Linked DNA regions of Homo sapiens: region 1 is linked to region 2. The links are contacts of gene promoters, found by promoter capture Hi-C in human tissues and cell types (Jung and others, 2019). All regions are on one chromosome and are shown on one strand. Each heading gives the region's core, a stretch centred on a gene start or on the middle of the fragment in contact. The rest is flanking DNA. Distances are from core to core; before and after follow the strand shown.

Region 1 (4,376 bases), core at 1,537-4,036, 180 kb after region 2:
AGAACTCACTATCACAAAAACAACAAGGGGGAATCTGCCCCCATGATCCAATCACCTCCCACTAGGTCCCTCCTTCAACGTTGGGGAATACATTTGGATGTGAGATTTGGATGGGGACACAAATCCAAACCATATCACTAATGGTGGCTCCAGGTGCTTTCTGGTCCATATATCTATTGTTCCCACACATGGGTAGGCTAGACAGAAAGGCAGAACCTGTCCCCAATCCCCACAGATAAGGAAAGAGAGAGGAAGCCTCAACATGGAAAAACTCTACCATGACAATGAAGGAAAGCCTGTGAACCAAGGAAAGGGAAAATGAAGAACAAGCACAGGAGGAAGGAAACCTGGAAGCAGCTTGTACCCTGGAAAACCAGGAAAAATTAGAAAATGATGGAAAGATAGAAAACAAGAGAAAGGCGGAAGATGAGGAAAATGCTAAAGAATAAGGAGAAGCCAGAGAGCAAAGGAAAGCCAAAAGGAGGAGAGTCAGAGGGGGAAACAAAGGCTGCAGGGAAGCCCCCCACTGAGGACATTGTACCCAGGAAAGCCAAAAGAAAGCCAACCGGGGGCTGGCTCATGCCTCAAGGAATATAAGAAGGCCATACATGATATGCATTTGAGCAATGGGAAGATGATCAGAGAATTTGATGAGATGGCTAGGGTGGAGGATGAGGTGAAAAAAATCAGACAAATATTGGGGGTAGGCCTTATGTCGGTGTAAAGAAGTTTATAGAACCCCTTCCACCTGAAAAACCCAAGAGAACTCAGCATGGCTGTGAGGTCCTACAAAGGGGAATTGAGGACACTTCTTACGCATCTGCCCCTGACAGGCATTTACCAGGCCCTGTGCTTAACCTTCTGCCAATACTTTGCTTTAAGTCACCCTTCTGTTACCACAGCCTTTGGGCACAACTGCAATGCTCTATGGTTGGGCACAACTGCAATGCTCTGTGGTTCAGTATCAGATTTTCGTCCATTGCATGGAAGAAATGGTGCATTGTAAAATTAAGAAACACAATTTGAAGAACCATTAAAAAAAGAAATGAGAATGGAAAATGAAAGAACTCATAAATGATGGCCTTGGTTTTCTCACGAAAGTAGAGGAAGAAATAATTAATTTTGGCAGGAAGATATTTTTGGGGGAGGTGGAGAAATAGGGCCGAGAAAACACTGGAGAAAAAGTGACATTTGGGTCATGTCTCTCAGGTAGCATCATGTGTTTAGCTATTTCACAACCAACAATCATCAGTGATTTACTTATCCGTGGGTAATTACATGCTACTAACTTCTTATTATCAAGGCCTTTCTCCACTACCCCATTTTCAAGATTATCTATCATTTATCAGGCTTGCCAGTATGAGAGAAAGAACATTAGAACAAGGGCAACAGTAGTCACCAACGCAGAGTTGATAAAATACAGCAAATAGCCCAGTATGGCTGATATATATGGTGCTGGGTTGGATAAGTGGTTAGTGGTGAGGACAGAAGACCTGAGATTAACTAGGAAGGGATAGGCCATACTAGAGAGCTCAGAAGTGATTCTCAGTGGGGAGCTCATGTAGATTTCCCTCATCTGAGTGTAGAGTATGGTATTAATGGTCCTGATGGTACACGACAAGGTAGGGTTTTTCAGGGGCTTGGAGTGGAAACTGTGTTGAGGATGGGAGTTTCTCAGTGTATTGGGGGGTGGAGGCAAGGCAAAGACTTCCCAGTGATGGAATCTCTCTCTCTTTGTACCTCAAGGCTATTGGACTTGTTTCAATAGCCTTGAAACAAGGCTATCTTACTCCTCGGGAGACCTGATTACTATAATCAAATTCATACTAAAAAGCTTAACAAAGTGGTCATTGAGGGTGAAGCCAGGCCCTGCATCCACAGCGTTACACTATTAGAGTCATGGGAGACAATCTAGTCTTCAATGTTGCTCAGGAGGCTCTTCGGAAGCCCCCATCACCTGCTTCACCACATTCTTGATGTCATTGTACTTGGCAATGTTCTCAAGGTGGCAAGTCAGATTCATGACAGTCTTGGCCGTGCCAGTGATGGTGAGGATGCTGCTCTGGGCAGCACGATGACCACTGCACCATGGTTTGCCAGAAGGACCATCCACAGTCTGTGAGTGGCACTGATGGCATTGTTTATAACAGTGAGGTCCTCCCTGCTGGGAGAGTTCCATGGATGTTCTTGGGGAGGAGGGCTGCACAGTTGGTGGTTCAGGTGTTGTTGCTGATAGTCTTGAGGGAATGCTTATGTTTCTCATGGTTCACTCTCCTTGCACACATGGGGGAATCAGCAGAAGAAGCAGCGATGAGGACTTTTGTGACTTCACCTTTAAGTGAACCCCAATCTTCTTGAAGATAGTGATGACACCAGGGGCCCCCATACCAACATCACCCCATTGGAGGTTGGTGGGACCTGTTTCCTGGAAGATAGAAATGGGCTTCCCACTGATGATGAGCGTCCCATTCCTATCCTTAAAGATTCCATTGAACTTGACATAGTGGAATCAACTTGGAACATGAGGACCATGTAGTTGAAAACAATGAAGGGATCATTGGTGGCAATAATGTTCATTTTGCCAGTGTTGAAAGGAGCCCTGTAACCAGACACCTAATACTGCCAAATCTATTGACTTCAACCTTTACAATGGTGTTACATGAATGCGGCTGGCACTGCACAAAAAGCTGCAACTGTCTGTCCAGTGGAGAGTAGCAGAAAGTGCAGTGGGGAGTTATTGTCCCAATTTATAGAAAGGGGTTGAGGCCTAAGAGACATTTTACATTTAGTATACATAGGACACAACTAATATATTCTGTGAAATTATTCATGAGAGTGACATCCCTGGCATGTAATGGATGAGAAGGAAACTTGCCTAGAAGGGCAGGAGTGGGGTTGGGCTTGTGGCTGAAGCATGGGAGTATAATGTTATCACCTGGGAAGACTGGTATGGTCAAGGGCCTATCCTTGACTTTAGGATAGGCCTGTGGAAACCCTGAGAGCACCAGCCAGAACCAGGTCACCATCCAACCCTTCTGTCCTACAACCCTTCCTTCTTCCTGGTCCCATTACTCCCCAAAGCTGCCCACCCCCAACCGAAATGCCCTGACTTAAATTCAAGGGGCTTTCTTTGCTGCATCCCTCCTGCGCTTTATACCTTGGGAATATAGCTGTCGGCCTTGATCCTCCCTGGTCATCGCCTGGTTGAGAACAAACATGTCTCAATAGCAACCTAATTATTATGTAGGTAAGTCAAGAGATACTTTTGAGAATTTAAAGGGGTATAAATGATGGAGGTGGTAGTTTCCTCCATGGCCTTTCTCACAAACTAGAGATAATGAGGTTCTATAGATTACACTTCCTCATGTATTTGACGAGGAAGTAAAGACTTGCTAATGTCTAGCATTTACCGTTATCGCTTTGAATTCACACACTATCCTTTTGCTTTAAGTTTAAAACACTCTGTATGACATTTTCTCAGTTTTGAAACCAGACTCTTAACTCTCAAGGAATTTTGTTAGGTTGCAATAAGATTTGTACTTTGCATTCTAAGTTGAATGAGAAGTGGTGCAGAAAGAGAACATGTTCACATCCAGTCATTTAAAAAATTAATCTTGGGCATAATCCTTCTAAACAAGCATCCCAGTACAACACTTAAATGCTATCCAAACCTTAGATAAAACAAAATATGATTTTGATCAGTCATAATGAATTAGTAAAATGTCAGTCTGTGTTATTTTCAAATGAGATAGGAAATGCATAATGGCTGGTAAATTGCCTTTCATTAGAAAACCACAGAATAAAACTGTAAGCTTTTTCTAAGTATTTATTTCTGAATTTACATAGTTTTGATATATTTACCAACCATGCTTATGCTTCCTGAGTTATTAAATAGATAAGCTGCTTTACAGAATGAACCAAACTATAAACCAATTAAACTTTACTAAGGGGCAAAATTCCCTGCATTTTTCTATGTTTTTGAGTTTCATGGCTGTGTGACTATCCCACTCTCCCCATCCTATCAACCTTCATTTATTGAAGATTTTGCCATCTAATTCACAGAAGGCCTGGCTTCCAGAACTCCTGCCATAATTATAGATAGTATTAATATTCTGGTGAAGAATCCATCCAGACTTTAACTTGGTCTCCTTAACGTTTCACTTTTACTTCTATTCTACATGAGCTATCCATCCTCAACTTCATTCTCACCAAGAACAACTTCATTTCTGAAGTTGCAAAGGTCAATATGAAAATAACCTGTGACCACAGCCTTTTGGTTCTCCAGCTTTTACCCACCATGCCCAGCGAGTCCTTTGGTTCCCAAGCTCCCATTCCCCTCATTGCTTCGCTTCCTTCTATTCCATCCCTGGCTAGAA
Region 2 (4,056 bases), core at 582-3,081:
ACTGCGCCTTCTGTCTTAGGCCAAGCATTTTCTCCTTCTTGGAACTCACCAGATCTTATTGTTCTTGAGCGTAATGGATTAACTTTCTATACTAGCCTTGAGGAATACATGATAGGAATTATATCAGTGACAGACTAATGTTTAGGCAGGAAAAAGTCATCATCGTGCAGAAATATCCTGGTATGTAAATGAGAACGTACAGAAAAGAGCAGACTAGACATACTCTAAATCAAAGGCCTGCCAAGAGTCAAGAGAATTCTGCGAACTGAGAAAGACTCCATGCCAGAAGCATGAGCCAGCGCTGCAGAGGTTATAATTTCTTTCTCTGCATCTTGTCCTCTGCATTATGCTCATATACGAGAAGGAAACTGAGATAGTGATTGGGCCATTTCTTTTCTTAATTTAATTTTTAAAAACTTGAGCCACAAGGTATCAATTCTGAGGACCTAATTAGTTTACTGGCAATAAAGTCCACATCCAGCCTAATCCTTAATATATAATCTGTAGCCCTTACCGGTCCCGCTGTTTCCTGGTGTTTCTCACCCAGGACAATCTCAAACCCAACACATAGCCGGGTGCAGAGGTATCTGGGCCAGTGTAGAAAGAAGACTTTGAGGTTAAGGCATGGTATTTAAGGTTCTGCTGCAAATGTTGTTTTAAACAAATCACCGTTCAACTACAACGGTATAATAATGCAAAAATAGCATCTGCCATGAAGAAAGTGCAGTGCTTTGAGAACTAGAAAAAGCAGTTAAATTTAAGGCCTTGCTTTACATTTCGGAGCCGCCATCGGGGCCAACTGGAGGTATGACTTTCCTGCACACAGGAGCAAGCTGAAAACTGCCCTGTGGCTTTATTCCACGTTCACCCCTGCAGCAAATGCCTTTTCTGTGAGGAACTACGGGCTGATGGGGAATCAGAGGTGGTTCTTCCTAAGTGGCGTTTCTGAGTGGGTTCCAGGAGTCCACAGTGACTTTAAGAGGCAGGCTACCTGGGGGACAGCCAGGCCGTGAGACGAGAAAGTTGTACAGTAACATTGCTGTGTGCCCATAAGTTTGTATCTTTTATTAGATTAGATAATATATCTCACATGCTGGGTTGTTAAGCAAATAAATATGTGTAAGGAAATTACAATCCACATAATTACATGAGTCGTTTTAACCACCACTCACCCCCAGAGTGATTAGATTTTCTTCTGCCTATGCCATTGCGGCCCAGTTGCTCTGTCACTGTCCATGGGGACAGGATCCCCTTACTCCGAAAAGCAAATCAGGAACAAACAGGGCAAGTGAGAGTCACTATCAGGGCCCAGAAACATGTGAGGAACAGCAGCTCAGAAGGGTCTCCAGACTGATGGGCCGGTGATCCTATATTCTTGTTGGGCTGACAACTCTTCTGGTTTCGGGCTCCAGGTGCTGGCAAGAAATCTCAGAGGTGGGGTGGGAGAGAGAGACGCGAGGCGACCCACGCAGACAAAGGGCTCCCACCCCACCCCCGGGCCACCCCGGCAGGCCGGGCAGGGGCCGAGCCTGGGGTCGCGCAGGGGGACCGAGAGGGCAGCGCGGGGCTGGGGGTGGGGAAGAGGCGGGAACCGAGCCGCAGGCCGCTGCGAGGAGTACTACCCCGCCACCCCCGCGCCGCGAGTTTCCGCGCACGTGGCCGTGGGGCCGGTCTCGCTCCCGCCCCCCGCCGGGCCCGCGCAGCCCCCTCCTCTGCGGCTCCCGGAGCGGCCAGAGCGCGCGGCGGCGGGCGGGGGCGGGCCGCAAGCAGGGCTCCCTGGCCGCTTTCCAGGTCGGCGCACTAATACGGGCGATGAGGCTTCGCGGCTCCAGTCTGACTGACGCCGGCTGGGGCCGCCGCCGCCGCCGCCGCCGCCGCCGCTGCTGCAGCCGCTGTCTCGGTCCCCGCCGCCGCCGCCGGGCCCTGCAGGCGCTGGGCGCGCGCAGCCAGGCAGTGAGTGCGCGGCGCTCGGAGCGGGCGGCCGGGGGACCACGGCGGGGGCGGGGTTGGGGGCGCCGGACCTGGGTGGGGGAGGGATGAGTGGCACGGCGGGGACAGGTAAGACGTGCCCTCCTCGGCCGCGCGCTGCTTGTGTGCGTGCGTGTGAGCGCATTGAGTGGAGGGCGAAGTTGTTCGTCCTCGGGGCAGCCTGGGAGGCTCCTCGGCGTGAGGCTTGGCTTTTGGCGGTCGTTGTTCCCGGGTTTTTTGGTGGAGCCTGTCTGGGGTGGAGTGGGGTGGGGTGGGGTGGGCGCGGGGCCGGAGGGGACTGCTCTGGGGAGTTGGCCGCGGCGCAGCTCGCCTTCCTCGCGCCTGCATCCGCCCGCGCCGCGGGCCCCGGGACCTGTCAGGGGATGTTCGACCCGCGGCGGGGGCGGCGGTCGGGTCGGGGCTGGGGCCCGGGGCGTGGGCAGGGACCAGGATAGGCGCCTGAGGGGTCGCTTGCTGTAGCTGGAGATAGGGGACAGCGGACAGAGGGGGCGGCGGGGGTCGTCATTGTGACTCTTTGGGGGCCACTTTTAAACTCGCCAGCGCCGAATTGGCCTCACTTGCCTTCTGTTTCGTAGGCTTTTTGCTTTGTTTACCTTTGAGGCATGCGAACTGAGAAAAAAAGTTAGGAATGTTGTTGAAGTGTCTCCGGGCTCGCGCTTGGACTGTGTCGGAGCCGGGGTGTTTGTCTTTTCCTTGGCCCGCCCCTCGGTGCCAGCTCTCCGCAGAGGGGAGGGGGCGAGGTGGGAAGCAGATACAGGAGACTGCCTGACGCCAGCTTTGTGATCGGAAGGAGGAGCGCTGGGAGAACATTTTTATGGATGGCTAATCGCTGACAAGTTTTCCCGTTACTATTCCTTCCTCCTCCTGCCCTTGACCGTGGACATTTGAAGTGATAGTTTGGAAATACTACGTTGACTTATTTCTGGGCTGGAGTGGGTACTCCTGAGAACTAACCTACAAAGGATACAAATCGAGTTTGGAGATAAAATTGTATGTAAATTCTTTACCCAGTAGTTTACAGTGAGAAACACACCCACAGGGCACTGTGGAGTGCTTTGGATGGATCCAGTTTACTAGTACCATTTCGGTGGCTTGCCAGATTTCTCGGATGATCTTTTGGAAATGTAGGTTAGCAAGAAGCATGGAGGCTGACCGTTAAGTCGTGAGGCATTTAATAATGCTGCCTCCTAAGCAGTAACTGAGCGGAACGTTTGTGGCACCCGTCTGGGAAAGTGAAATGTGACTACTACAAGCATGTCTCCTGCCTTAGCATTCCTCCAAGTGTGAGGGAATGCCTTTGGATGTTTACATTTTAAAAATAGTGATCTATATTTAAGAAGGCATTTAAAATAAAAGCCAAAGACATTCTCAACTCCAAATAGACAAAGATTCAATATAAGAGTTTCCCTGTGCTTGTAGGAAAGCATCAGCACAATTTTAGACTGCTTTTAGGTTTGTGGTTATCCAAGAAGGAGGCTTCAGATAAGAAAAGGATGTGACGCTTTATAAATAAGGAGCATTTTAAATACAAGATGACAGCAATTTCAAGTACTGTATCCGAAAAACAACTTTTAGTGGTAATAGTCACCTTCAGTGATGGCAAGACAGCTGTCTGCCAGACAGCCTTCGGCCTCTTAATGTATTCTGACACAACCAACTCCCATTTTTATGCTTGACTGGTTATCTTTGTCAGAGCTGTTTTATGCTTGAGCTCTCTGGTTTCAAACTATGCTTAAGAGAATGCCAACATACTCTTGATCTGAACAAACTCATGTTTATCAGTGCAGTGTTTACTAAAAATCAAAGACGTAAACAAATTTTGGGTTAAACCTCTAAGTACTTTAGAATTGCCACATCATTGTCATCAGTCTTTCAAAGTCAACATGAACTATTTGGCTTTTCTCCTTTAAAAAATTTTTTTAACTTATATATTCCTAGTTAGTAAGTAATCAGAAAATATTCACAGATGTCAACTCTTGCATCTGTGATTGCCCAAGACATGGATGAGAAAGAAGAGTTTTGTTTTGTTTTTTAAATGAAACATTACTAAAGATATCCATAAGTAAT

The links. The method cuts DNA at HindIII sites, captures the fragments that hold promoters and counts their contacts. A contact is called where the count stands out against the background at its distance.
Region 1: a fragment that was not itself captured here is called in contact with the fragment with the promoter of SMAD9 in region 2 in 2 of the 25 tissues and cell types used here (mesendoderm cells and spleen).

What each region holds. Positions count from the first base shown.
Region 1 is chr13:36,738,313-36,742,688 of GRCh38, reverse strand. The region is part of intron 3 of LOC102723490 (a long non-coding RNA gene); the gene reads left to right. It also overlaps the pseudogene GAPDHP34 and the pseudogene TCEAL4P1. Among named protein-coding and RNA genes, the nearest start is that of SERTM1, 66 kb to the right of the region's middle. The HindIII fragment of the contact is 6,034 bases long and covers 1-4,376 here.
Region 2 is chr13:36,918,013-36,922,068 of GRCh38, reverse strand. SMAD9 (SMAD family member 9) reads left to right here and starts at 1,831. Exons shown (of 7, transcript NM_001127217.3): 1 at 1,831-1,953. RefSeq lists silencers at 1,691-1,740, 1,851-1,920. The HindIII fragment of the contact is 20,741 bases long and covers 1-4,056 here.